Regions from separate parts of the Homo sapiens genome. Here all the other regions are linked to region 1. The links are contacts of gene promoters, found by promoter capture Hi-C in human tissues and cell types (Jung and others, 2019). All regions are on one chromosome and are shown on one strand. The core of a region is centred on a gene start or on the middle of the fragment in contact, and the rest is flanking DNA. Distances in the headings are between cores, read along the strand shown. Region 1 holds the start of PTPRT (protein tyrosine phosphatase receptor type T). Region 2 overlaps LOC101927182 (a long non-coding RNA gene). Region 3 overlaps PTPRT (protein tyrosine phosphatase receptor type T).

Region 1 (4,275 bases), core at 1,139-3,638:
GCTGGCCAAAGTTCCAAAGGGAAGCCCTAAGGGCTAGTGTGAGTTTCCCAGGGAGATGATACAGTGCAGGGCTTCCAGGCAGAGGGACTGGCCGGTGCAAAAGCGTGGCAGTGCTGTGGGTGCCAGAGCCTGGCCGGGCAGCAGGTGGCAGCACGTGCTACTGAAGGAGAGGGGGCAGTTTCTCGGAGTAGAGGGAGGTTTAGAAAGCACAGAGGGTCACGGTTCATGACCACGGTGCACCTGGGCAGGTAAGTCCTGGTGCAGGATCAGGTCCCACTCCACCAGCTCAGTGACTACTGAATTTTTTTTTTCCCCTCGGGGCCACATGAACCCCATTCAGACCTGGGGGATTTGTCTGCAGTGATATCACATCCCTAAAGCAGGAGTGCAGGGGGGTGCCAAAGGGCGTTGCTCTGAGGATGCTGTGAGAACTGCTATTTTATAGTTTTCCAGAAAGCTTGAGAGAGGGGATGAATTGGCAGGAGCCCAAGAAAGTGGCAACAAGTTACAAGTGTGACACCAAGCTCTTTAGTGGCTTAGAAATCTCCCCACCCGGGTCATCCCCTGGGATCTGCCATGACTGGGGTCGCTTGTGGTGGTCTTGGGTCAGGCCTCTCCTCGCACACTTCCTAACTGCTCATCTGCCCAAGGCAGGGTTAGAATGAGTGAGTGATGGAGCAAACAGCTGGAAGCTCAGCTCTGAGCAGAAGGGATCTTTCCATTCCAATTGTCCCTAAGGGCTATAGCATTGTGGTATCCCCAGAGAACAGCACAGAGTAAGGCACACAATTAAATGCACCATAAATATTGGTAGAATTATTAATCTCCAAAGCAGCTTGTAAAAGGTTCAACTCCCAGGCCACCCCCGACAGGCCTGCCAAATTCCACTCTCCCCAGCAGGGGTCTGGGAAGCAGGACTTGGAGAAATCTTCCTGGTAGTTCTTTGACCAGGCAAGTGTGGGAGGCACTGGCTGGTCCAACAGGCTAGTCCAAGCACGTCAGCTTTTGAAAGTGGTCACGGTCATGGTGGTGGTGGTGGGAGTCGGGGTCCGGAGAGGGGTGGAAGAATTTGCCTGGGATTGTAAATTGGGCTTCCATGCCAGGGAACTGGGCCACTTTACCTAGTGGGGACTGGGAACTGGGGACTGACAGAGTGACGCCCTGTGTTCTCTGCCATGCCAACTTGGGTCCAGAGCCTGGGGCTCCCCACTTTTGGAAACCCTGCCATGCTTGATTTTCACAATTCACTTACAGTCTCCCCAGTCCAGTCCCTGGTACCCCAACAAGGATGGGGGTGGGGGGCTGTGCTGACACAGAAGAAGGAGGGCTTTGGCCAGGTAGCAAAGTGTTCACAAAGTGTGAATCCCTTAAGCATTTCTGGGTATCCCTGCCCCTGGCTTTTACATCTCAGACCCCCAGCCAAGACTCAGGTACCAGCTGCCTCCCAGGACAGCAGAGAGCCAGGCTGTGGGCCGTGGGCTGCCAGGGACAGCTCCAACCCTGATCTATGGTTTTAGGCTTTCAGCCCCAACCAGGTCTTTGTTAAGACCGAGAAGAAAAGGGAAAAAGCTACAAGGTTCTGTCTCCCTAGAAAAGGAAAGGGAAGGCTGCCAGGGAAAAATTGTAGGGGGTGGGGGGATGCCTCATGCCCCTTCTGCGCCCCCTTCCGCGTGGTGGTGGGGACAAGAGAGAGATGTGGGTGAAGAAGAAGGTGGGGTGGGCGGCTAATTGAGGGGGACGACGATTGTGGCGCGGTCAGCGATGCGCCCAGAAGAGTGTGAGTGGGTTGTGTGTGTGTGCGCGCGCGCGCTCTTAGATGAAATTCTCATCTCAGGGTGTGCCCGAGACCCTGGCCAGCAGCCGCCTGCCCCAGCTTTGGGCAGACGCCCCCACCCGCTTTCGCAATTCACCTGGCCCCTTATCTTGAGTTGCGAGGGCTGCTCCCTCCCTCCCTCTTCTCGCCACCGAACCCCCATTCACCTGTTCCCCACCCCGAGTTCAAACGGCTGCTGCAGCTTCCTCCTCCCCGCACCGCCCCCGTACCTGCGCCCCCACAGGGCAGACGATGCTTGGCTGCGCGGCGCGGCGCGGGGCGAAGAGGCGAGGACCCTGCCCGGCGTGTGGGTGCGGGGGTGATGTGTGGACGCGCGTGACTGTGCCAGCGGCCCGAGCTGGTCGGCCCCGGAGAGGGTGCGCGGGGGAGCCCGCGTGTGCCAGCCGCGGGCGTGTGCCAGGCGCGGGCGTGCGCGTGAGGGTGTGTGCACGGCCGAGGCGGAGCGCCCGGGCGGGCGGCGGCGGCGGCGGCGGCGGCAACGGCGGCGGCGTTAGGACTCGGGGGACACCGCCCCCCGCCCCCCGCGTCCCGCCCCCGCCCAGCCTCCCGCCTCAGTTCGCGCCGCGCCTCGGCTTGGAACGCAGGAGCGCCGGCTCCGGGAGCCCGAGCGGAGCCAGCCGCGCGCACAGCCAGCGGCCGCGCCGGCGATGCGGGGCCACCCCGCGCCCGCCCCAGTCCCGGCCCCGGCCCCCGCGGGAAGGGGCTGAGCTGCCCGCCGCCGCCCGGATGGCGAGCCTCGCCGCGCTCGCCCTCAGCCTGCTCCTGAGGCTGCAGCTGCCGCCACTGCCCGGCGCCCGGGCTCAGAGCGCCGCAGGTGAGTGCGCCCGCCCGGCTCCCCTGGGCTCCCCGCTCCCTCCTGGATGCGCGCGGGCCCCCAGCCGCGGGGCCCTCGGAGGAGAAAGTTGTGTGGGCTCGCGGGGGCGCGGGTCCCCATGGCCGGAACCCGGGTCTCAGCTTGCAGGCGCGGGAAGCAGTGTCCCCGCGCGCCCCGGCCAGCGAGCCCGGCCCCTCGCGTCCCTCGGCAGCCCGCGTTTGGCGAAGTTCCCCGCTTCAGTTTCCTGCCGGCCCCCCGGGCTGGAGTAACTTTCCGCGGTTGTTGCGAATATTTCCACTTGCTGCCTCCCACTTGTCGGAATCTGCCACTTGAGTGTTTGGGGCGGCGAGACGAGGAGCGGCACCGACGCCCGGGGTGGAGCGTTCTCTCCCGGGCAGCTCCTCGGGCAGCGCGCGCTTTTAGTGGGGAGGACAGGTCCCCAGCAGGCCGAGGCTGCCGGGGCGGCGGCTTTTCTTTTTTCCTCGGAGATACAGGAAGCTCTCCATTTGCTCTGAACACGCTGCTCCCCTAAGCAGGCCGCTGTAGGCACCCGAGGGGATGTTTGCGTTGATGACCGAGAGCAATACCTCCGCCCTACCCGCTGGCTTTTCTCCGAGGTAGCTGGGCGCCCGTGTTAAGGCCCTTGGAGGGGAGTGGATTTGACCCGTGAGCGCGTCCGCTCCTGAAAAGTTCGGGGAACTCATATTTGGGTTTGGCCACGGGAAGGCGGTGAGCAGAGGTAGTTCCCCAGAGTAGGGGGAGCGGGGGCGGGGGGGTGGTGCCTGCCGTGCTCCTAAAGGCACGTTGGCGGGTGCTGGAGGGCACCACAGTCCAGGGTCTTACACATCACCAAGCCCCACCGCAGGCAGCTTCCACCCCCGAGCCCCCCCCCCCCCAAGAGTAGCGGCGGAGGGAAGAGAAGGGAGTGCTGCAGGTGTACTTCCAAGTTCAAAATCACCTTAAAGTTTCTTAGCACCGATTGCTTTTGGTGTAACCACGCCGGCCTGAGGTGGCTGGGATTGCGGGGACAGGCTGAGATCAGCCCGTGGGACGCAGGAACAGGCTGGTTTCGGATCGCTAAGCAACAGCTGTGCCCATTTATTATTTCACCGAAAGAAGGAAAGGAAGAAAGAAAGAGCAAAAGAACGAACCTGTGGGGAGGTACAGCGTCTTTGCACAAGCTGCGTCTGAGGTTAAGGGCCGCTGGAAGGACATTCCGTTGGAAATGCTTTAGAGCCTTCCTTGCTTGGTACTAAAATGGAAGCGGAATAGGCGACTTCTGTGAAGGGACAGCCTGTTTCCCTGGCTGGGAAGTTGGGTGACGAAGACACTCCTTTTGAGGTGTGTGAAGCTGAAAGGTTGGATTAGCAAGTGAGAGAAGAGGGACAGCTACAGCACCATTCTAAAGATGGTGCACAATTCTTGTTTTCCTCATTTTGGGGGGTGTGTTAGGTGTGCTAGGGGAGGGAGGGGTACTAGGGAGGATGCCCGGGGCAGTCCTGGGGATCCAGGCATGATTCGTGACTCAGATTTTATATCCTCTAAGGCATGACCGGCCAACCACACATTAATACCACTCACGTTCCCGCGGCAGAAACAGGATCAAAAATATTCCATCACGGGTCTC
Region 2 (4,275 bases), core at 1,054-3,553, 1.1 Mb after region 1:
CAACCTATGAAACCCAGGGAGTGACCCAGAAAGCCCAATTCTGTTGTTTTCCTCTCCAGCGCCAAGTCAGGAGAATCTTGAAATATTCATCCCCTCAACCCTCACCCTTCAAACCCACTCCATATTTTCCAGAGCAGAGCCTAGGCTACCAGATGTCTGCATTGGGAGACCAAGACTAGGAAGATGATATTGGGCACTGGGAAGAGTATCAAATACAGAGTCAGCAAATAAAATATGAAGTCCTGCCTCCTTCAATACAAAAAGGTAATAGCCATGGGTTTATGGGGTCACAAGGGCCCAGTGTCTCCCAGAAAATGTGACTGACAAATCTCCCAGAAGAACCCATCAAGCATAGCCGCTTAGTCACAGCCCCAAGTTTCAGGATTTTGTGCTTGTCCAGAACTAAAGGGTACAGCCATCCTACTGGACTAGACTCACATTTACCAAGCTTACAAGAAGCTAATGAATATACCTGAATGCCAGTATTTAAATTCAGGTATGAGAAATGCAAAATCAACCATTATCTATCCACAGAGAATCTGCATGGAAGGCCAATTCATCACGATATGATTCTCATGTGACCATGAGCTCAGTGCAAGTGGAACTGGCTATGGGACCAGAATGTGTAACAAGCTGAATGAAGAGGGTCTGGTGGCCTGTCTTCAAAGGAAGAGGGTCTTGTCACTTGCCAAGCTGTCTGACAGCCCAGGCAGCAATCCCCCAGGGGTAGTATAGGTCCTCAACCAATTTAGCCTATTTGCTAAACAAGGTTTCCTATTTGCTAGGATTGGGGCTGAGCCTAGCTATCTCCTACCTCACCCCCAATTAATGACAGTGTGTTTGTAGATGCATCAGTATCACCCAATAGGCTGTACCAAAGATCTTGTCCCACTTCTGGTCTGATTGACATTACGTGTTTAAGGCAACCTCACAAAGTTGTGGGGTTACCTTAACCCCCAACAAGTTACTTGTCCACACTAAGTTTTCATTTCCTCATTGGAGAAGTTTGTCAGGGCCTATGCAAGAATTAATCCACATGGCACAGTGCAGAACCCAACTCACAGGGAGCAATTCTATGTAACACAGTGAAAGTATCAGGCATCCCAAATCATCTCAGGGAGGGCTGGGTGCCAGCTGTCATGGCAGCCCCCAAAGACATGAGGAACCACATCAGAGAGAAACTGAATCCCTCAGGCGTACTTCTGTGGCTACAGGCAGAGCCAGGAATCCTGTGTCCCTCCCTCCGTGCCCCCTACAACACACAGACACAGACACACACACACACACACTCACATGACAACCTTTTCAATGTGTACACGTAACCAGCAGTGTTCTTCCTCGGCCTAACTAAACAAATTGATCAAGAGTCAATACAGGTCCTAATTACAGACTCTGCACTGGAAGATTGATAGAGGGAGATAAAGAGGGAAGAACAGGCCCTTGATGGGCGCCTATAATGAGGTGTCACTGGTCCCCACTGTAAGTCGTTTATAAACATGGTCTCACGTCTGTGGCTGTCAGCATCCCTGCCAGAGCTTAATGAGCTGCTCCTTCCTGCCCTGGGGTTAATGTCAGAAGCTGATCATGTTTTCTGCTGCAAGAGGCACTGGCTGCCTGATGGTTGGTGAATTTCATCTGCAAATGTCCCCATTCACTCAAGAAATGCATTTTCCCAAAACTCCTGGCAGAGATAAGCATTGATTTTTCCATCTGAGCCTCTCAACCCCCAGGAAGTGCCATTGTTGAATTCTCCACTTGCAGCCTCTTAGATTGGGTGGGTTCAGGAGAAGAGTGTCGGCAACACCTGGAGTCTTGAGTCCTTGAATAAAGCGATTAAGAAAGGAGACTTGCAGGCTCGGGGTACAGAGGCTTTCAAGAGCTGTGATCATGGGCACTAAGACCCTAATGGACCTTGGGTGCTCCCAGCCCCAGGAAAAGGCCAGTCCAGCAACTATACAGACCAGACCAACGCAGAGGCGGAGGACATGACTCCAGGGCACTTGCCCACTTCCTCACCTCCATGAGGTCAAGGGAAACCTCCCCCACCAACCCCTGCCCCTTTAGACATAGCCTTGGGAGAGTAGTTGAGGGGTAAATATTGTAAGAAAAAAATCTGAGAGACTTAGTGTATTGCTAAAATAGACTGAGCATGTAACTAGAGGGATGATTTCAATGACTACCTTGAATTATGTTTCTGGATTCAACTAAATTGTGAGGGTCAGCTGATGATTTATAGAGAAATAAAGAAACTACATTTGCTTTGGGAAAAAAAGGAGAAAGGGAGACTTGGCCTCAGTTGTTCAGGTATGAATCCTGGCTTTACTATCTTCAAGTTATGTGGTGTCTGTAAGTCTCAGTTTCCTCATCTGTAAACTGGGAACAATAATAGTACTGTTTAAAAGAAAAAAAAAAGGACTTTCCACTTGTACAGGCACTGAATGCTGAGTTTTACCACACTGGCAATACTAACCAACTGAAGCAGATAAACATCTACGGACTTGGAGTGACCTCAGGACACCAGATCTTCCCTAGACCAACCTGAAGCCTCTCGCTTGGTGAATATAAAAAGACATTTTAATGTATGGATCAATTGATTTATTTTGTCTAATCTAGGATGCAAACTTCGATTCTTAATTAGCATAATCACAACGAAACTTTCTTGCCTGCACGTAAAACTCACTGACATTTTCCCTTCAGGGAGCCACTCAGTGTATTTCTTCCCCAAGTTATCTTCCCTTGGTTGTTAAATTAGTAAATTCAGTGCTGACTCTTGCAATCACTGTGATGGTCTTGGTCCTCCTTTAATAGTACCTCCTTTATTAACAGTACTCTCTCTGGTAGGTAGAATAATCCCCTCCCAAAGGTGTCTATGTCCTAATCCCTGGAACCTGTGAATATGTTAGGTTACATGGCAAAAGAAAATTAAAGTTGCAGATGGAATTAAGGTTGCTAATCAGCTGACCTTGAGGTAAATAGATTATCCTGGATAATCCAGGTAGACCTAACATAGTCAAAAGCATCTTCAAACAGAGATGAGAGAGACAGAAGAGAACCAGAGATGGTAGTGTAAGGACGACTCAGGTGACACTGCTAGCTTTGAAGGCAGAAGGGGCAATAAGCCAAGAAATGCAGGCGGCCTTTAGAAGTGGGAAAAAGGCCAGGAAATGGATTCTTCCCTAGAGTTTCCACAAAGGAAGACAGCACTTCCAACACCTTAAAATTCTAGCCCAGTTAGTTTCATGTCAGATCTCTGACCTCCAGAATTGTAATGTAATCAGTCTGTGTTGCTTTAAGTCACCAAGTTTGTGATGGCTTATCACAGCAGCAGTGGGAGACGAAAGCGAATACCTCTCTCATTGGGTTTCTTCTGAGGATTAAGTGAGTTCTTACAGATAAAGTACTTAGACTCATGCCCAGCAAATCACAGATATTCACTTAACATTATTTTACTTATAAATGCCATCAACTTCTTTATTAATAAGGTTTCCTGCCTCCTCCCTCTTTGTGACCACTCCCATGACTTAACTCTGGCCAACAGACATGGAGGACAGAGAAGAACTGCCCTTTACTGGGCAATTCCTGTGACCAGGCCTTGTGCCAGGCTCTATGCCCAATGCCTAGCATGAGTCCTCTCGATTGGTGTGTGTCTGGAATCATCTTCTTTGGAAAACCAGAATGAGCCTGGGCCTGAGTGGTTGTAAAGTCCTCATAATCAAATCATCAGCTATTTGGGACATCTGAACAAGTACACACCATCAATTACCAGCACACAACTCTTCTCCAAACACCAGCACAAGGCACTGCGTGGCTGGCATTTTCTCAACAGTCATTGTCAAGGGAGCTGAGCTGCCCACAGAGTCCAACTGGAGGAGGCCTCTGCTTCATCTGGGCTGCTAAGCCCTTGGCTTACCCCTCCTTCTGGGAAACAACCACCCCATGTTGTCCTTATCTGTCTGGTTTCTCATTTGACTGTGACTTCCTTGAGGACCAGGACAATGCCTATTTACTCCTCTGTCCCAGTGCTGAGCTCTGGCATGCTGGTCTCAGTGAGTCTTTGTTGCCTGAAGGAGGAGTGAGATTACAAATCATTTTTACTTGTTCCTTTACAAAGCAGGAGCTCTCGAGAGCAATGCTGAGATGAATAGTTTGGGCCTTTTACGTCTCTCACTTGTCTCACTCTAGTCCCAGCCCTGCCCACTGCAGTCAGATATTGTTTCTCCAGCAACTGTTGCTGAAGCTTAAAGCAAATCTCATTAAACTTTTTAATAATAAACA
Region 3 (4,275 bases), core at 1,250-3,749, 1.0 Mb after region 1:
CCGTTATTGGCTTCCCATTGCCCTCCAGATGAAGTAAAAATTAACCTCGTGGCCTACAAGGCTCAGAATGACATGACTTCTGTCAGCATCTTTAGTCTCATCTCTGGCTACTCTCTGTCTTGCTCAATATACTCCAGTCATATTGACCTCCTTCCTATTCTTTGAAAACACTAAGCATTTCCCAAAATATGGCTTTCACAATTCTGTTTGCTCTTTCCAGAACAGTCTTCCACTCTATATTTCACTGTTTAGCCACTTTTTATCCTTCAGGTCTATGATTAAATGTCTTCTTTTGAGGGATTCCCTAAATTGTCTATCTAAACAGTGGCCACTTGTTGTTTTTTTTTAATTTTACTACATTCTAGTCCCTCTTAGCATGTGTCAGAAATTTCTTGTATGCAAATGTTTATTCATTTAATAATTTTTTGGCTAATGTCTGTCATCTTCACCAGACTTTTAAACCATGATTGCATAGACAACTTCTGTCCGGGCTTCTACTATATCCCTGGAGACTAGTATGGTGCTTGGCCTATGAATACGATTGAGTGGTATTTGTTGAATGAATCATTATGCTAATTTTAAGTCAGGATAGATCACAATGGTTCACTTTCACTATTCAGTATTCAGTCAACTGATCTTATGCATTGCTGGGACAATGAGGACCTGCAGACATAGCGATGACTAGGGTTACTCTTAGATTTTAATCCCATAGAGGAAGGTTGAGGGAGGAGGACAAGGGAGGGGACCATTGCACTAGTCTGGGAGAGATATATGGTGCACTTTGCACCTCCATTTCTTAGAAAGTCCTAATCCTTGTATCTTTGTCCTAGTCATCAGTTCTAAAGGCCCCATCACCAAATACTGGCTTCCTTGGACTCTCTACCACTCAGTGTAGCCCTGGAAAACAGAGGGAACACTCTTCAGACCCACTTTGTGTCCCCTACTGCCCCTACCCTTGTGATCTCCCCTCTCTCCTCCAGAGGGCTCTAGGCTTCTAGCCTTTTACACTTCCCCAGTCACAGCTTACTCTTCTCCAATTTCATGCCCTTGTGAGCCTTCCCAATATCTGGCATAATCTGAAAAGTCAATTTACTCTTATGTATTAAGGGATGTATCATATTGTATTTAAATGGGAAAGTACAAGAAACTAATATTTATTGAGCCCTAACTGTGTGCCAAGGACTATGCTAGATGCTGTGCATACGTTATATCATTTAATCCTTAAAACCTATGAGTTGATGATTATTGTTGGTACTAGGCTTCTTTCACACATGTGGAGATTGAGGTTCAGGGAGATTAAATAACTTGCTCAAGGTCACATAGCTATTAGTAGTAGAGCTAGGATTTAAACTTAATCTTTCTCTTGCATATGATCCTACTACTATAATGTACTCCCTCCCGAATAGTGAGAAATATGCGGACACCTCTGAAGCCACTAAGTAAGAGGATGGCATACTGGGACAGTGGTGTCTTAAAATCAGAGGATATAGGCTCTTGTTTACTCCACTGATTTCTAAGATTGCACTACTCTCTTCAGAGGTTAGAGTGTAACAAGCTTCTGAACATGCTGCCACTCATTTATTCAACAAGGTTTGTTGAGCACCTACTATGTGCCTGACATATTATGCACTTTTAATATACATCAGTGAAGAATACAGAAATTAAAAATTCCCTGTCTTTCTAGAGCTTACATTCCATTGATGGTAGGAAGTGGAAAGAGAGACAGGAAATAAGCAATGGACAGCAAAAGATAAGTACATTATATGATATGACATAATAACAAGTGAGGGTGCACTGAAACAATAGAACATGCTGAATGGGATCAGGAGTCATAAGTGGAGGAGGATTGCAGTTTTATAGAAGATGACATCTGACTAAAGACTTTAAAAAGGTAACAGATGTGAGCCATGTCAGGAAAGAGTGTCTCTATTAGAGGCTCCCAAGGCAAGCATGTGCCTGATATGTGGAAGCTAGAACCCTGTTCCAGCTGTAAAGGTCAGTCAAAACCAGTGGAACCCATAAGAAATATGGACTTCTCCTCTAAATTTAGATCCTTTCAGAAGGTACCATTGTAAATTAAATGGGTTGAAACCATGGTGCTTCCAAAAAATAGTGAAGACCCTTGTGCCTATGAGAGCTGAGTCTCACCACTAGCCTAGCCTTCTGGGGTAAGGAGAAAACTCTGTAATCTTTGACTTCCTTGTTTATGACAAAACACGTCTATCTGCAGGAATCTTCCCGGAGCCACCGCATCCAGGATCTGTCCTTGGTGCTGACCCTGATCTTCTTTAGCTCAAGATGATCTAGCATTGATTTCTGCATCTTCTTGCCCATTGCTGGGTTCTGCTATTACTACAGCTGGCTATACTTGGCTATTCCATGCCTTTCTTTAGGCTAGTCACCCATACTATCATCATGGTGATTGCTCCAGCCCCCCAGATTCCGGTACACCTACCCCATTCAGACTTAGTCCCTTGGCCCTGCTTGGCAAAGAGCCCAGTGTAATACTGTTAAGGATGTTAGCTGGCACAGTCACTTCTGTCATTGTTTTCTGAAAGCATCATTGCTTTTTCAACTGACCCTAAATGTGGTGAGGGTTTAGTCACCATTCCAAATCATTTATTTAGCATGAAAATTTATTAGTTAGGCCATTGTTTAGCAAATTCATCACATTATATTTTTTACTTAGCATTATCACTTAATTAGCGTTTTATTACTGGAATTGGCTGTCAATTATGTGGCTAATTCATTGTCTTAGGGAATGGATTTTTTATCTGCGTAAAGCAATTGAAAGTACATTGTTAACTCTTTAACGATTAAAGATTGTTGTCAATGGCAATTCATGTGATAAGGAAAATTAAACCATTTACTTTCCTTGAAAAATCAGATCTTGGAAAACTCTTTGGAAAAGTGTAAAGAGGGTACTTTAGAAGCTTTCATGAATTAAAAAACTTTTATTAAGTGAATGCCTTGGAATACTTGGCAAAGCTAAGCAAAGTCAGCTGGAAGATTTTGACTGGACTCCTTGGAATGAATTATTATAATATACTCTCATATGTGTATATTTAAATGTTCTTTCATCGACATTACCTCTTTTGGTTCTCACAAAAACATTGCAGAATGATATTAGGATTTGTGGTTGGCAAACTTTAAGATGGCCCCAATGATCCCTGCCTCCTATGCCACATTCTTATATAACGCCCTTCCTCATTGCAGCCAAGATCTAGTGACTGGCTTCCAATGAATAGGATATGATAAAGTGATGAGATGTCCCTTTCAAGATTTGTCTTTAAGAAGACTGTGGCTTTTATCTTGGGTGCTCTCTCTCACTCCCACTTGTCTGTTCCTTGGGAAGCTAGCTACTATATTGTAAGTTGACCTATTGGCAAGAAATCGAGGGAGATGCCCAGCCAACAGCCAGCAAGGAACTGAGTCCCATACTGCAGTAGCCCATGAAAAAATGAATCTGTCAGTATCATGTCAGTGATTATGAAATCAGTTAACTTGAATTCTCTCCCAGCTGAGTCTTCAGATGAGATCATTACCACAGCGGTCAGCTTGAGTGCAACCTCACAAAAGACCTTGAGCCAGAGATACACATCTAGGCTGCAACCAGATTTCTATCTGCAGAAACTGAGATCGTATATGTTTGTTATTTTAAGCTGCTGTGGTTGGGGGTAGTTTGTCAAGTAGCAGTGGATAACTAATACATGGCTTAACATGTGAGATGTTAATTAATTTGCCCAAAGCCTTTGACTAATAAGTAGTAGAGCCAGGATTTAACCCTGGTTCTTCTGATGCATTTCAATAGACAAGAAGATAGGAATTACAGTCCAGACCTCTCATTGCAGCTGCCAGGGATCCTCAAAGCTTTGACATCCCATAAGGGCAACTATTCAGGGACTGTTTCCCTGTAACATTGACTCCCTTATGACTTGCACACCTTTATTACTATGAGAATCACTAGGATTCTTCAGAGGCTGGCAAGCAGGCTTGAAAAACAGATCTTCTGGCTGGGCACGGTGGCTCTCGCTTGTAATCCCAGCACTTTGGGAGGCCGAGGTGGGTGGATCACAAGGTCAGGAGTTCGAGAACAGCCTGGCCAACACAGTGAAATCTTATCTCTACTAAAAATACAAAAATTAGCCGGGTGTGGTGGCAGGTGCCTGTTATCCCAGCTACTTGGGAGGCTGAGGCAGGAGAGTCGCTTGAACCCAGGTGGCAGAGGTTGCACTGAGCCAAGATCATGCCACTGCACTCTAGCCTGGGCGAAAG

The links. Contacts are between HindIII fragments. The study calls those that stand out against the background at their distance.
Region 2: a contact is called between a fragment that was not itself captured here and the fragment with the promoter of PTPRT in region 1, in 1 of the 25 tissues and cell types used here (dorsolateral prefrontal cortex).
Region 3: a fragment that was not itself captured here is called in contact with the fragment with the promoter of PTPRT in region 1 in 1 of the 25 tissues and cell types used here (dorsolateral prefrontal cortex).

Annotation. Positions count from the first base shown.
Region 1 is chr20:43,188,019-43,192,293 of GRCh38, reverse strand. PTPRT (protein tyrosine phosphatase receptor type T) reads left to right here and starts at 2,388. Exons shown (of 31, transcript NM_007050.6): 1 at 2,388-2,648. The coding sequence starts at 2,561. PTPRT-DT (PTPRT divergent transcript) reads right to left here and starts at 2,229. Exons shown (of 3, transcript NR_186414.1): 1 at 2,044-2,229. The HindIII fragment of the contact is 13,787 bases long and covers 126-4,275 here.
Region 2 is chr20:42,043,793-42,048,067 of GRCh38, reverse strand. The region is part of intron 2 of LOC101927182 (a long non-coding RNA gene); the gene reads right to left. It also overlaps a transcript of PTPRT not described here. Among named protein-coding and RNA genes, the nearest start is that of CHD6, 430 kb to the right of the region's middle. The HindIII fragment of the contact is 4,523 bases long and covers 42-4,275 here.
Region 3 is chr20:42,177,972-42,182,246 of GRCh38, reverse strand. The region is part of intron 16 of PTPRT (protein tyrosine phosphatase receptor type T); the gene reads left to right. Among named protein-coding and RNA genes, the nearest start is that of CHD6, 560 kb to the right of the region's middle. RefSeq lists a silencer at 2,181-2,381. The HindIII fragment of the contact is 4,223 bases long and covers 388-4,275 here.